5 separate regions of the Homo sapiens genome follow, and all the other regions are linked to region 5. The links are contacts of gene promoters, found by promoter capture Hi-C in blood cells and fetal thymus (Javierre and others, 2016). All regions are on one chromosome and are shown on one strand. Each heading gives the region's core, a stretch centred on a gene start or on the middle of the fragment in contact. The rest is flanking DNA. Distances are from core to core; before and after follow the strand shown.

Evidence for each region. The method cuts DNA at HindIII sites, captures the fragments that hold promoters and counts their contacts. A CHiCAGO score of 5 or more calls a contact.
Region 1: a fragment that was not itself captured here is called in contact with the fragment with the promoter of IFNAR2 in region 5 in 10 of 17 cell types (activated CD4 T cells, non-activated CD4 T cells, monocytes and 7 more); the score reaches 9.9 in activated CD4 T cells.
Region 2: a fragment that was not itself captured here is called in contact with the fragment with the promoter of IFNAR2 in region 5 in 6 of 17 cell types (non-activated CD4 T cells, naive CD4 T cells, activated CD4 T cells and 3 more); the score reaches 8.9 in non-activated CD4 T cells.
Region 3: a fragment that was not itself captured here is called in contact with the fragment with the promoter of IFNAR2 in region 5 in 1 of 17 cell types (neutrophils); the score reaches 5.4 in neutrophils.
Region 4: a fragment that was not itself captured here is called in contact with the fragment with the promoter of IFNAR2 in region 5 in 10 of 17 cell types (neutrophils, monocytes, activated CD4 T cells and 7 more); the score reaches 13.3 in neutrophils.

What each region holds. Positions count from the first base shown.
Region 1 is chr21:33,388,714-33,391,413 of GRCh38, reverse strand. No RefSeq gene overlaps it. Among named protein-coding and RNA genes, the nearest start is that of IFNGR2, 13 kb to the left of the region's middle. The HindIII fragment of the contact is 1,207 bases long and covers 777-1,983 here.
Region 2 is chr21:33,364,717-33,367,416 of GRCh38, reverse strand. No RefSeq gene overlaps it. Among named protein-coding and RNA genes, the nearest start is that of IFNGR2, 37 kb to the left of the region's middle. RefSeq lists enhancers at 1-162, 163-864, 1-1,014. The HindIII fragment of the contact is 4,490 bases long and covers 1-2,700 here.
Region 3 is chr21:32,994,332-32,997,031 of GRCh38, reverse strand. No RefSeq gene overlaps it. Among named protein-coding and RNA genes, the nearest start is that of OLIG2, 30 kb to the left of the region's middle. The HindIII fragment of the contact is 441 bases long and covers 1,102-1,542 here.
Region 4 is chr21:33,405,066-33,407,765 of GRCh38, reverse strand. All of the region lies in intron 1 of IFNGR2 (interferon gamma receptor 2), which reads right to left. Among named protein-coding and RNA genes, the nearest start is that of IFNGR2, 3.0 kb to the right of the region's middle. RefSeq lists a cis regulatory region at 2,620-2,700. The HindIII fragment of the contact is 6,986 bases long and covers 1-2,700 here.
Region 5 is chr21:33,228,515-33,231,214 of GRCh38, reverse strand. It overlaps IFNAR2 (interferon alpha and beta receptor subunit 2), which reads right to left and starts at 1,277. Exons shown (of 9, transcript NM_001289125.3): 1 at 999-1,277. IFNAR2-IL10RB (IFNAR2-IL10RB readthrough) reads right to left here and starts at 1,277. Exons shown (of 13, transcript NM_001414505.1): 1 at 999-1,277. RefSeq lists silencers at 811-860, 881-940, 1,001-1,460. The HindIII fragment of the contact is 6,332 bases long and covers 1-2,700 here.

The sequences.
Region 1 (2,700 bases), core at 131-2,630, 160 kb before region 5:
CAAAGTGCTGGGATTACAGGCGTTAGCCACCACACCCAGCCCATAAATTTTTCTAACTTTTTTGTTGCTGTTGTCTTTATAATAGTAGTACTTGGGCCAGGCGTGGTGGCTCACGCCTGTAGTCCCAGCACTTTGGGAGGCTGAGGTGGGCAGATCACTTGAGGTCAGGAGCTCAAGACCAGCCTGGCCAACACAGTGAAACCCCGTCTCTACTAAAAATACAAAAATTAGCTGGGCATGGTGGCACACACCTGTAATCCCAGTTACTCAGGAAGCTGAGACAGGAGAATCACTTGAACCTAGGGTGGAGGTTGCAGTGAGCCAAGATGGCGCCACTGCACTCCAGCCTGGGTGACAGAGCGAGACTCCGTCTCAGGAAAAAATAAAACAAAAAGTAGTACTTGTTCATTGTCAAGGAACTATAAAATACAGAAAAGTATAAAGAAGAAAAAACAATTCCTCCATAATCTTACAATACAGAAATGGCCAAAATTCATATCCTGAAACTCCTCAATTTTTAAGCACCAGCAAAACGGCCAGAAGGCAGCATTATTTCACCCTTTCTGAGAAGTGTGTAGAAACCACACACAGGACAGGAGAGGAAGGAACCTTTTGCTTCTCCTGTGTTTCCAGATTGTATGAAAATCAGGTTGCCTATAGTTTCAGGACATTCTCTACAGGTACAGTCTTGACTTTGCAAAGCCCTGAACACGTCTTGACCAGTGATAAGAGGAGATGCCGAATGCCTCACATTCACTGTCAGCAGCCCTCAAGCTTCAGCCTTCCTTGGCCAGCTCCCGGGTATAGTGACTTCCCAGTACAGTCATGGGCACTGGGCGTAAGCCATTATGTAGAGATTATGCTACATTTTGTGAGTGTTAAATACATCGTTAATGTAATGTCCTTTCTTTTGCAGAATCTTAAACTATTGTCACTGTGAACTTTCTTTTTATCTTGGAAACCTCAAACATCATAGTGTGTGACTTCTAGTGTATCCATACAAAACAGATCCAAGCAAAGCAAACACGAATTCATGTGGGTACCTTTGTGGATGAGGGCAAGAACACAGACAGCCTAGGGGCGGTGGAGCATGTTCAGAAAGGACGCGGTGGTCTGGAATATGGTGCCTTCTCTCCCTTCCTCCCTCCTTCCCTCCCTCGCTTCTTTCATGTATTTAGCACATATTTACTTACTGAGCATCTACTCTGTGCTAGGCACTGTTCTGAGAACAACAGATAAAAACTCTGAGCTTGTGGAGCTTATGTTTTAGTGGCAGCGACAGAGAATGCCCGGTCAATCACTGAACACAGCATCTAGTATCTGGAACCATGGTGATCGTGCAATGCAGAGGACCATGAGTGGACTGCAAGTTGCATTACATCCAGTCCCAGGCGATTCTCTTGGGGTCTGCAGTAGGAGAGTCTGTCAAATCCCCTCCTTTTCCTCTGTTCTGGCATTAGTGGTAGATCCCCAGGTGGCTGGACTCTCTGTGTGGGAGGTGGGGAGCCCCTGGCAGGAACTGGGGTGGCTCCTCTGGTTGTGCTAGACAAGCACCAATCCACAGAGCTTTTCAACATCCCCAAGGCACTTGGGGGGTGTCCACTGAGTGGCAGTTTCTTCTCATCTGTCAATGGGCTGCACCCCCAACTCACAGTCCCATGACCTCCCCTGGCTTGGGGGAGCCTCCACCCTGCCTGGGCCTCCCAGTTCACGCAGTGGGGAGGGCACCATTCCTCCCAGCACAGTCCAGTCCAACACCCAGGGACCTGGGCACATCCATACATGCCTCCTAACTCATTCCCCCAGGTAGCATAGGGGCATCTAGGCAAAGGAAGCTCCAGAACCCACTTTACTCAAGACCCAGGGACATTCCTGTTTTCCAAATGAACATCACTCACATTGCCTAGGAAACAGCCTCACCTCAAAAAACATTGGCTCAAATAAAGGCAACACTACCAGATATGATATTCTAATGCTGAAGCTTGGACTTATCCAAGTATCAAAAAGAGATTCAGCCAGGTGCGGTGGCTCACACCTGTAATCCAAGCACTTTGGGAGGCCGAGGCGGGAGGATTGCTTGAGCCCAGGAGTTCAAGACCAGCATGGATAATGTGGCAAAGCCCCATGTCTCAAAAAAAAAAAAAGAAAAAATTAGAGGCCAGGCACGGTGGCTCACGCCTGTAATCCCAGCGCTTTGGGAGGCCAAGGCGAGCGGATCACCTGAGGTCAGGAATTTGAGACCAGCCTGACCAACATGAAGAAACCCCATCTCTACTAAAAATACAAAATTAGCCAGGCGTGGTGGTGCATGCCTGTAATCCAAGCTACTCAGGAGGCTGAGGCAGGAGAATTGCTTGAACCCAGAGGGCAGAGGTTGCCATGAGCTGGGATCGCTCCATTGTACCCCAGCCTGGGCAACAAGAGTGAAACTCCATCTCAAAAAAAAAAAAAAAAAAAAAAATTAACCGAGCTTGGTGGTGTGCACCTGTAGTCCCAGCTACTTGGGAGGCTGAGGCAGGAGAATCGCCCAGGCCCAGGAGTTCGAGGCTGCAGTGAGCCATGATTGCATCACCACATTCCAGCCTGGGTGATAGAGTGAGACCCTGCCCACTCCTCCGCCAAAAAAAGAGAGAGAGAGACAAACTCATTTACTTTTTTATTCCTCAAAAAATATTTACTAAGCACTTCTTAGATGCCAGG
Region 2 (2,700 bases), core at 174-2,673, 140 kb before region 5:
TCTGTTAGAGTACAAGGCATGTCTGAACATGTCTGGGCATGTCAGGGCACAATCAGAGCGGAAGAGTTGTTTGCAGGCTAGAAATGAGAGTACAAGGAGGTTGGGCTTCTGAACAAAGAGCAAGAACTTTACACAATTAAACCCTTTGAAGAGGAATTTATCATTCCTAACAATGGGTTTTTTCAAGACTACTCCTGATCTGTCCATCAGGAGATGTATAATGTTTGGCAGTTTCTGTTTTTATAATGTTAGCTGCTGGGTTTTTTCTTTTCTTTTCTTTTTCTTTTTGTTTGAGACAGGGTCTCAATCTGTCACTCAGGCTGGAATGCAGTTGCTTGATCTTGGCTCATTGCAACATGCACCTCCTGGGCTCAAGTGATTCTCCTACCTCAGCCTCCTGAGTAGCTGGGACTCAGGTGTGCACCACCACGCCCAGCTACTTTTTTGTATTTTTTGTAGAGAGGGTTTTTACCATGTTGCCCAGTCTGGTCTCAAACTCCTGGGCTCAAACGATCCACCTGCCTCGGCCTCCCAAAGTGTTGAGATTACAGGAGTGAGCCACCACGCCCAGTCAATGTTAGCTGCTGTTGATTGTAAACTGAAAAGTATCTGAGACAGGTCTCAATTGAGAAGTTTACTTTGCCAAGGTTAAGGACAATGCCCAGGAGACAGGTCTGTGCCTTTCTCCAAAGATGATTTTGAGGGCTTCAATATAAGGGAAAAAACAGGCTGGTATGGAAAGAAGGAGGGTATGGTCACATTATCGAATCCACAAGTTGCAAGAGAAAAGGAGCAGGTAGGGGAATAGTCAATTTCAATTATGTATTCCTTGTATGCTCAGAAAATCAGCACTTTACAGAAGATAAGGTGAACACAGAGTAGGTTAAATATCCCCCCCAAGACACTTACCTTTACCTCTAGCTCTCTGCTTAGGAACAAAAGGAAAGGCAGCTTCTTGCATGACTCAGCTTTCAGCTTAGTTTTTTTCTTTTGGCAGAGTGAATTGGAGTCCCGAGTTTTTATTTTCCTTTCATATCATGCTCAGCAACTAGATAGAGATAATTTTTGATAAATGTTCACTAAATAGCTTTTGACCTATAAATCAGAAAGAATCCAAAGACTCGAGTGGAGGTGACACTTTGGGATTCCTTCCAAGCCCATCACAAAGCCTCACCCCAAAACATGGAAAACAGGAGCAGCAGAGGCACTAGGTCCTGTCTCCATGTGGCAAGAAGGCATGTTCATCTGTGACACCTGCAGGCATTGAAGGAAGAGGGAAGAAGCTCCATCCAGTTAATTAAGAGATGTATTTCCAGGCAGGGTGTGGTGGATCATGCCTGTAATCCCAGCACTTTGGGAGGCTGAGGCAGGCAGATCACTTGAGGCCAGGAGTTCAAGACCAGCCTGGCCAATATGGTGAAACCCTGTCTCTACTAAAAATCCAAAAAATTAGCCAGGCATGGTGGCATGCACTTGTAATCCCACTTGCTCGAGAGGCTGAGGCAGGAGAATCGCATGAACCCAGGAGGCAGAGGTTGCAGCAAGCTGAGATAGCACCACTGCACTCCAGCCCTGGGTGACAGAGCGAGACTCTGTCTCAAAATAAATAAATAAGTAAATAAATAAAAGAGATGCATTTCCAGTGAAATTGGACTTTTTATGCTGAAAAATTATTTATCAAAGGTTATGAAATATTTGATCAACTGTATACTAATAATTGCAATAATAATCCAGAAAAGCTATTTTTCTTTCTTTCTTTTTTTTTTTGAGATGGAGTCTCACTCTGTCCCCCAGGCTAGAGTGCAGTGGCTTGATCTTGGCTCACTGCAACCTCTGTCACCAGGGTTCAAGTGATTCTTCTGCCTCAGCCTCCTGAGTAGCTGGGATTACAGGCTCCTGCCACCGTGCCCAGCTAATTTTTGTATTTTTAGTAGAGACGGGGTTTCACCATTTGGCCAGGCTGGTCTTGAACTACTGACCTCGTGATCCACCCACCTCGGCCTCCCAAAGTGCTGGGATTACAAGCATGAGCCACCGCACCCAACCAGATTTTTTTCTTTTTAACATTCAGAGACTATGATCATATAAAAAGAAATATATCAATTTATATACTTTTTTGTTGCAAAGATATACGATAGATGATCAATAAATCTACTGCATGAAGATGAACTTTTGTGGGAATAAGAATATGAATTCAAGGAGGAAAGGAAATGGTGTAAAGTTTCAGAACCCATAAAGAACAGTTTCTGGAGTTTCTTTTTAAAAAAATTTTTAAAAAAATATTTCTGAGACAGGGTCTTGCTCTGTTGCCCAGGCTGGAGTGCAGTGGCACAATGTTGGCTCACTATACCTTGACCTCCAGGGCTCAAGAGATCCTCCTACCTCAGCTTCCCAAGTAGCTAGAATTGCAGGCACACACCACCACACCTGGCTAATTCTGTTCATTTTTTTGTAGAGACAAGGTCGTCTCACTATGTTGTCCAGGATGGTTTTGAACTCTTGGACTCAAACAATCCTCTCGCCTCGGCCTCCCAAAGTGCTGGGATTACAGGAGTGAGCCGCCATGTCTGGCCGAGTTTCTGTAATTTCAAAGTAGACAATGATGGGTATCAAATTGCTTTGATAGGAGATTCCATTGAATGCATTTATAAGAGCGATAAAGCAAGTTTATTTTAAAATGTGAATATTTACAACTTACTG
Region 3 (2,700 bases), core at 73-2,572, 230 kb after region 5:
AAACTTGTGAGCAAAAGAATCTGTGTCATAAATAAGTTCAAGGGAAGGCACTATGCCTGGATGTGCACGTAGGCCAGATTTATGCTTCTCTCCACCCAAACATCTCAGTGTAGCAAAGCGTAACAGAGCAGCATTGCCGCCAGCATATCTCGCCTTCAGCCACAGGGCAGTTTTCTTCTATCTCAGAATAGAACGAATGTATGATTGGGTTTTACACCGAGACATTCCATTCCCAGCGACATGCAGGAGATGGAGGCCTTCCTCTTAACTCAACTGCAAGAGGCCTTCCTCTTTTACTAATCCTCCTCAGCACAGACCCTTTACGGGTGTCGGGCTGGGAGACGGTCAGGTCTTTCCCTTCCCACGAGGCCGTATCTCAGGCTGTCTCAATGGGGGGAAACCTTGGAGAATACCCAAGCTTTCTTGGGCAGAGGTCCCTGTGGCTTTCCGCAGTGCATTGTGCCCCTGGTTAATCGAGAATGGAGAATGGCGATGACTTTTACCAAGCATACTGCCTGTAAACATATTGTTAACAAGGCACATCCTGCACGGCCCTAGATCCCTTAAACCTTGATTCCATACAGCACATGTTTCTGTGAGCACAGGGTTGGGGCTAAAGTTACAGATTAACAGCAAAACAATTTTCTTGGCACAGATCAAGATGGAATTTCTTATGTCTTCCTTTTCTGCATAGACACAGTAACAGTCTGATTTCTCTTTCTTTTCCCTACAAATAAGACACACCACTTTGAAGAGTCCAAGGATGTTGACGTTAAGTGTTGTATGCCAGGAAACAGGGAGGAAGGCCAAATATATATTTTGTAATATCACGTATGTAAACAAATAATATATAAAATTTACATTTATTTATTCCCATCAATTACCAACATATTTAACACTACATCTAATGTAAGGCTTATTGGCTGAATACTGGATACTGGATACTTTGCAAAGGGAAGCAATCATTAGTCACATTGCTCAGTCCTTTCACACTCTGTGGACCTTCAGCAGCTCAGCAGCTGCCTGAAGTTCTCCATTGCTACAAGGTCAGACATTGTTTATCTCACATTTTAGAGGCCACTTCTGCAGGTAACCCAAGCTTAGGTCTACAAAGTAAAGAATTCTCCCTCTTCTCTCCAAGAAAAAACACACAGTGGTAGTTACAGCCTGGGATTATGTCCTGGGATCAGTCATGACGATTCACTCAATTAAACAGCAAATATTTACAGAAGGCCTATTACGTGCCAGGCACTATTCTGGGTCCTGGGGATACAATGGTAACACAATTGACAAATTCTTGCCTTCATAGATCTTATATTCTAGCAAGTGACAGAGTAACACATCTAGTTCAGTTTAGGGACAAATATACTGGAACACTTGAATGGGAAGAAGGGCTGAAGGGGATGGGTTACAATGTATGTCTGCATCTATTGAAACCCTCTCCAGGTAGCACAGCCCTCTCAGGAAAGAAGCAAAAGGTATTCCTTCCTGGTGGATGCCAAGCTCTAAGACTTCCCTTATTATTTGTTTGTTCATTAAGCTTTGAATTACAGTAATATTCAGACAGTCAAAAGTAGAGAGTATAATACAAAGAACAATCAAGTACTCATCAATCAGCTTTGATATATATCAATACAGGATAATCTTGTTCTTCTATATCTGCCTCTGTTCCCACTGTTCCTGGATAATTTGTAGTGAGCCCAGACATTAAGTACTGTTATTTATAAACGTTTCAGTATGCATCTCTAATAGATAATCATTATTTTTAAAAAATCACAATATTTTTATTATACTTAAAAATATTAATCCCTTAATATTATTAAATATTGTCATGTTTATATTTTCCTGGTTGCTTTATATTTTAAAAAATTGATTGTTTGAACCAGAACTGAAATAAGATTCCTACTTTGCATTTGCTTGAAATGACTTATAAATCTCTTTTCTTTATACATTTCCTCTTCTTTCTTTCTTTTTAACCCCTCCATTTTTGTTGTTGAAAAAACGGAGCCATTTGACTTAGAATTTTCCACAGTCCGGAATTCATTGCGTCCCACAGTGTCATTTAACATGCTCTTCTGTCCTTTGTATTTCTATGATTTCTTACATCAGTGTCTTTCTCCAGACCTTTCTTTTTATATTTCTAGTTATTTTCTAAACTGTGCCATCCCTCTTTTCAAGCATTTTTTTTCTCCAGTCACCTTATTTCTGAGCTTTTTTTCTAATTCTGAGGTATGTTATTCTTTCATAGCTTCTATCATTTTCTTAATTTTCTTTAACTTGTTTCATAATATTTGAAATGTTTTGTGGGCATTCCTTTTGGACACGCTTTCATCGTTTTGTAGGAATTTTTTCTGCTCTTTCTTTTCATTTTTTCCTTCTTAACTTTTTATAAGTTTTTACCACAATGCTTTTCTGTTGTTTATTTTCTAAATGAAATGAATTTTCCTATACTTTTAGGAGTGAAGGGTATGCTGGGGCAACCTTTCCAGTTCAAAGGCTCTAGAGCTCCCTCTCCTGTTCCTTTCGCAAGGAAATAAAACAAAAATCTCCAAAGGTTTTGAGAGCTGCCTCTTCTGCTCTGCCCACCCCCATCCCATTTATCTGGATCTTTTTTCCTTGCCTGTATTGATCTGCCCAGATACTCATCAGTGCAAGGCTTTGTATTGGAAGAGACTCTGTTCACTTTGAGGGCATATGGAG
Region 4 (2,700 bases), core at 24-2,523, 180 kb before region 5:
AAATTAGCAAAGCATGGTGGCAGGTGCCTATAGTCCCAGCTACTTGGGAGGCTGAGACAGGAGAATCGCTTGAACCTGGGAGATAGAGGTTGCAGTGAGCCGAGATAGCGCCACTGCATTCCCACCTGGGCATCAGGGCGAGACTCCGTCTCAAAAACAACAACAACAACTGGACATCAAGTTATTGACCTAGATTATTTGGCTCTTCCTATCAAGAAAGGTTTGACTTTCCAGGAAGTAAACTAGAGATATAACCTAGTTCGAAAGAATGGCTGAGAAAATTAAGAGAGGTAATGTATATAAAGCACTTGGCATCTCGTCTGACCAATAAATGTTACTATCATGATCGTTTATAAAGGTGGCAAAAGCATTCCAGCTACATGATATTTTCACTTGCTGAGATTATGAACACTCAGGAGCTTACCCAGTGGACATTCACATGCAATGGTTTTTAAGTTGCTGGGGACTTACTGTCTTTCTCGGTGGTCTCTAAGCATATGAGAAGCTCTGGCTGTTCAAGTCAGCAAATAATGATAAAAAATTCTGTGGCACAGTACATATCCAATCCCCTGAAAAAGTCAGCAGCACCTGCTACAATTACAAATAGAAGCCTTAATTCCTCAACACTCAGGTAACTAACTGGTCAGTTGATTTACTGCACTTGTGCTGTTGGTTACATTTTTCTATCTAGCGCAAACGGCCACTACTTAACAGCTCATGGCTACAAATTGCCACAGGTCCCATATTTTACATATTCTACTCTTACAGAACTCTAAGGGATAGATACTATGTCTCCCTTTAAAAAATCTGTTTCCGGAGCCAGGCTGGGTGGTTCACATCTATAATCCTAGCACTTTGGGAGGCTGAGGCGGGTGGATCTCTTGACCCCAGGAGTTCAAAACCAGCCTGGGAAACACGGTGAAACCTCATCTCTACAAAAAAATACAAAAATTAGCCAGGTATGATGGCGTGCACGTGTAGTCCCAGCTACTCAGGAGGCTGAGGTGGGAGGATGGCTTGAGCCCAAGAGGTTGAGACTGCAGTGAGCTGTGATCATGCCACTGCACTGCAGCCTGGGCGATGGAGAGAGATACTATCTCAAAAAAAAAAAAAAAAAGTTTCCAACACTTTTTTTTTTCTCTGACCATAAAAGCAATTTCAAAATTACACCGGTAAGTTATGGGAAAGTGTGAAAACCTTTCTACCACCCATTTGCCATATAATCATTGTGAATATTTTCACTTTGTGTTTTGACTAAAAGAGTGTTTCTTTTGAAGATATCCATTAGGTTTGTTTTTAAGCTGTTTAATGTGAAAATGTTCAAATAGTTGCAAAATAGAGATTAGTTTAAAGCACTACACTACTTTTCTTTTCTTTTTTTTTCTTTTTTTGAGACAGAGTCTTGCTCTGTCACCCAGGCTGGAGTGCAGTTGCATGATTTCGGCTCACTGCAACCTCCCCTCCCAGGTTCAAGTGATTCTCCTGCCTCAGCCTCCCAGGTAGCTGGGATTACAGGCGCCAACCACCACGCCCGGGTAATTTTCGTAGTTTTAGTAAAGAAGGGGTTTTTAACATGTTGGCCACACTGGTCTCTGGAACTTCTGACCTCAGGTGATCTGCTCACCTCTGCCTCCCAAAGTAATGGGATTACAGGCATGAGCCACCGTGCCCAGCTGCTACTACTTTTCAAAGGATCAATGGAGCCAGTTTTTTTATTTGTTTGTTTTTGTTTTTTTGAGATAGAGTCTTGCTCTTGTCGCCCAGGCTGGAGTGCAGTGGTGTGATCTCAGCTTACTGCACCTCTGCCTCCTGAGTTTAAGTGATTCTTCGGCTTCAGCCTCCTGAGTAGCTGGGACACAGGTGTGTACCATCACGCCCCCTAATTTTTGTATTTTTGGTAGAGACGGGGTTTCATCATTGTTGACCAGCCTGGTCTTGAACTCCTGACCTCAGGTGATCCGCCCGCCTCAGCCTCCCAAAGTGCTGGGATTACAGGTGTGAGCCACCGAGCCTGGCCTCACTTTTTAAAATTTTTTTATTTTGCAACATATCACATAGACCAAAACTTTTGTAGAATACAATTAAAGTTAATCATTAACAAGATGGACAGGTAGCTGGATGTTGTGGCAATGTCAGACTATAGTTTCTAAATACATCTTTCAACCTCTGGACTCATCACAGGTAAGTCACAAACAGTCCACAGATCACCACTAGTCACTCCTCTCTGGCATGAAGTCACTCGCCTGCTGATCCCACACTAGGACAATCATCAACTCTCATTAGGAGGAGGCCTAGGGAGGAGGCATATGCAGATTGCTCAAGACGTGAAGCCAAGTGGAAGCAGAGTCAGGATTTGAACCCATCTGTCTGACTCCCATGGAAAAGCAGTTAATAATTTCCTCAAGTGCAAGGCACCCCAGATCAAGGAGATACGGAACTTATGGGCCTTTGCAAGGAATGCCGGTAGAAAAAACAAACCCACAACACAAGGTTATAGCTTCGAATGGGAAGAATCTTCTAAATTCTCGAGACTCCTATGATATCACTCTCCCCAGGGGAAAGAACCCAGCAAAACAAAAGCAGATACATACACAAGAATGTTCTAGCCACACATTTGTCATTAAGGTCTTTTCCTCTTTTTCTTTTTTTTTTTTTTTTTTTTCTGAGACAGAGTCTTGCTCTGTCGCCCAGGCGGGAGTG
Region 5 (2,700 bases), core at 28-2,527:
TGCACAGGTGGATAGGGGGTGGGTGGACAGGATACTGAGAAACCTTGGCAAGCAGTGGGACTTAGCCCCTGGGCCAGTGAGCACACATGGGAAACTCCACCTCTCCCTGAGCCAGCTCCGGCACTTCTCACCACTGAATCAACGCCCAAGCATGCTATATTCGTTTCTAAGACTTCTTGCTAAACAAAACAAGGAAATAAAAAAAAAAATGTTAAAAGAAAGGAGGTGGGAATACTCAGAGTCAATATAACCATCGCTAACCAAATAAACGGGCTGATGGAGTCAACTCGCTACTGCGTGTAACGGATTGATTTGCTCAGGGTTGAAATGCAAGTGCCGATCGCCTCTCCATATTCGCGGAGTATCTTCCCAGTATCTCCCCTCTCCGACCCTGGGAGGGTGCACCCTTCTGTCTCCGCGGCCACGTCCCCTCGCCCCTTCCCCCTCCTGCCTCCACGCAGCGGATCCGGAGGGGTGTAGGCCGCTCCAGCCCCGGCTGCAGTCTGTGACCCTGACGCAGGTCGAGGGGGGCTAATCCCAGGGGACCTCAAGGGGGCGGGCTGGAGATCCCGAACCTGAGCACCCAGCTGGTGAGCCGGTTTTGCAAGGCGGGGTGGACCTGGAGGAATGTGACCCTCAAACTTAGCAACGACTCACATCTTGCAGTGGCAAATGCCCGGTATCCTGGGCATCCTTGGTGGGGTGGGGTGGGACGCGGAGGGGTGCAACGAAAGCGGACTCCCAGCAGGGGCGACGCGTGGAGGGCGCAGGACAGGGCCCGGGAGGGGTCCTGGGGTCGCAGGTGCGGCCCCGGGAGAGAGGAAGGGCGCACTAGCCGCATACTCAAGACGCAGAGGGAGGGCAGGAGGAGGAGGAGGAGTCGGGGAGAGCGAGAGGGAACCGGAGGGGATTCCGGGAACCGCTGCAGGGAGGCGGCGTTTTCCCTCCAGTCAGCTGGCCACGCGCTCCGCTCCCGCGACCCCGCCACGCTGCGTTACCTTTGCAGCTCTCGCCTTGCGGCTCCCGAGAGATGCTAGCCTCGGGCCCCAGCCGCGCCCGGCTCTGGGACCCGACGCTCGCGGTCAGGATGCGCCTCGCGGGCGGCCTCTCGGACAGAAGCGGCGGGCGGGGGACAAAAGCGGCCCGTGCGGCCGGGTGGTGGTCCGCGGGCTGCGCTCGGGGAACTGTTCGGCTCGCCGGCGGGATTCCTACCCGCCGGGAAGAAGCGTCTTTAGTGCGGGTGCGCGCGCCGAGCCCCGGCCTACGAGGAGCGATACGGAAGCGCGGGCGCCGCGCCGCCGCCGGCGCGGGGGCGGGGGCGGAGCCAGGGGCGGGGCCGGAGCCAGGGGCGGGTCCTGGGCCGCTGGCGGGGCTGGAGCAGGGCCGGAGGCGGAGGCCGGGCCGGGGGCTGGGCAGGAGAATAGAAAAAAGGTCCGGTCATTTACAATCGTCTGCTGCCGATTGTCAGCTCCTAACCAATCCCGCCTTCGCCGAGAAAGCTCCATAGGGGAAGAATTTGGGACTGTTTTGTTTACTGAAGTATCCTTAGGGGTTAGAATAGTGCCTGGCATTTAGAAGACACCCAAAGATGTGTTGACTGACTGAATGAATGAATGAACTAAAGAGTGAATGGGTTCTCTCCTGGCTCCCCCACTTGTTAATTGTATAAACCTGCATGATATAATTCTCCAACTAGTAAAACGAGGATAAAAATACCTACCATTGAGTAAATGTTGTAAATATCTACAACATTATCCGTTGTAGATTCTCCCCTCTTCTCCGCGGGTCTCTTCTCCATACTCCTACCCTTCCCTCGACCCCCCACTGATCAACGTGTTTCGGGATAGGCAGAAAGACAGATGTTCTTCATTAATTTGTCTGCTTGTTATTTATAGCCTGTCAACTTCTAAAATAGACTATGAGGCCGGGAGCGGTGGCTCACACCTGTTATCTCAGCACTTTGGGAGGCCAAGGCAGATGGACCATCTGAGGTCAGGACTTCAAGACCCAGCCTGACCAACATGGTGAAACCCTGTCTGTACTAAAAATACAAAAATTAGCTGGGCGTGGTGGCGGGCGCCTGTAATCCCAGTTACTTGGGAGCCTGAGGCAGGAGAATTGCTTGAACCTGGGAGGTGGAGGTTGCAGTGAGTTGAGATTGCACCATTGCACTCCAGCCTGGGAGACAAGAGCGAAACTCTGTCTCAAGAAAAACGAAAAAAAAAAGAAAATCCAAAACCAAAATAGACTATGAGGCAGCTTTCAAGTAAAATGTATGTATATTCTAAACATTACAGCTACTAAAATGGAAATGTTAATATCTTTTTGAAGGAGAGGGAAAAGATACACTAACCACCTAAATTGTTTTAACTGAGTATTTAATCTCTCGTTCAGCTTTCTGGCCTCCTAGGAAAGGGAGGAGGAGGATGTTTCATACTTTTTGTAGATGGGAAAAATGAGCCTTTTAATCTATGAAGTCAACCAACATTTGCTGATACTCCTTTAAGGCTAGGCACAAGGGTGATCATAAAGAGGATGTCACGGTCCTGCCTCTTATGTGACCCTTGGCAGAATTCCCACCAGCCCCATACGATCTGAAGGGAACTTATCTAGGATCCTATTTCTTATAAAAGACATTCAACATTGAAAATATTTTCAGCCACAGTTTTAGAGAATTTGCAGAAATAGCCTCTGAAAATG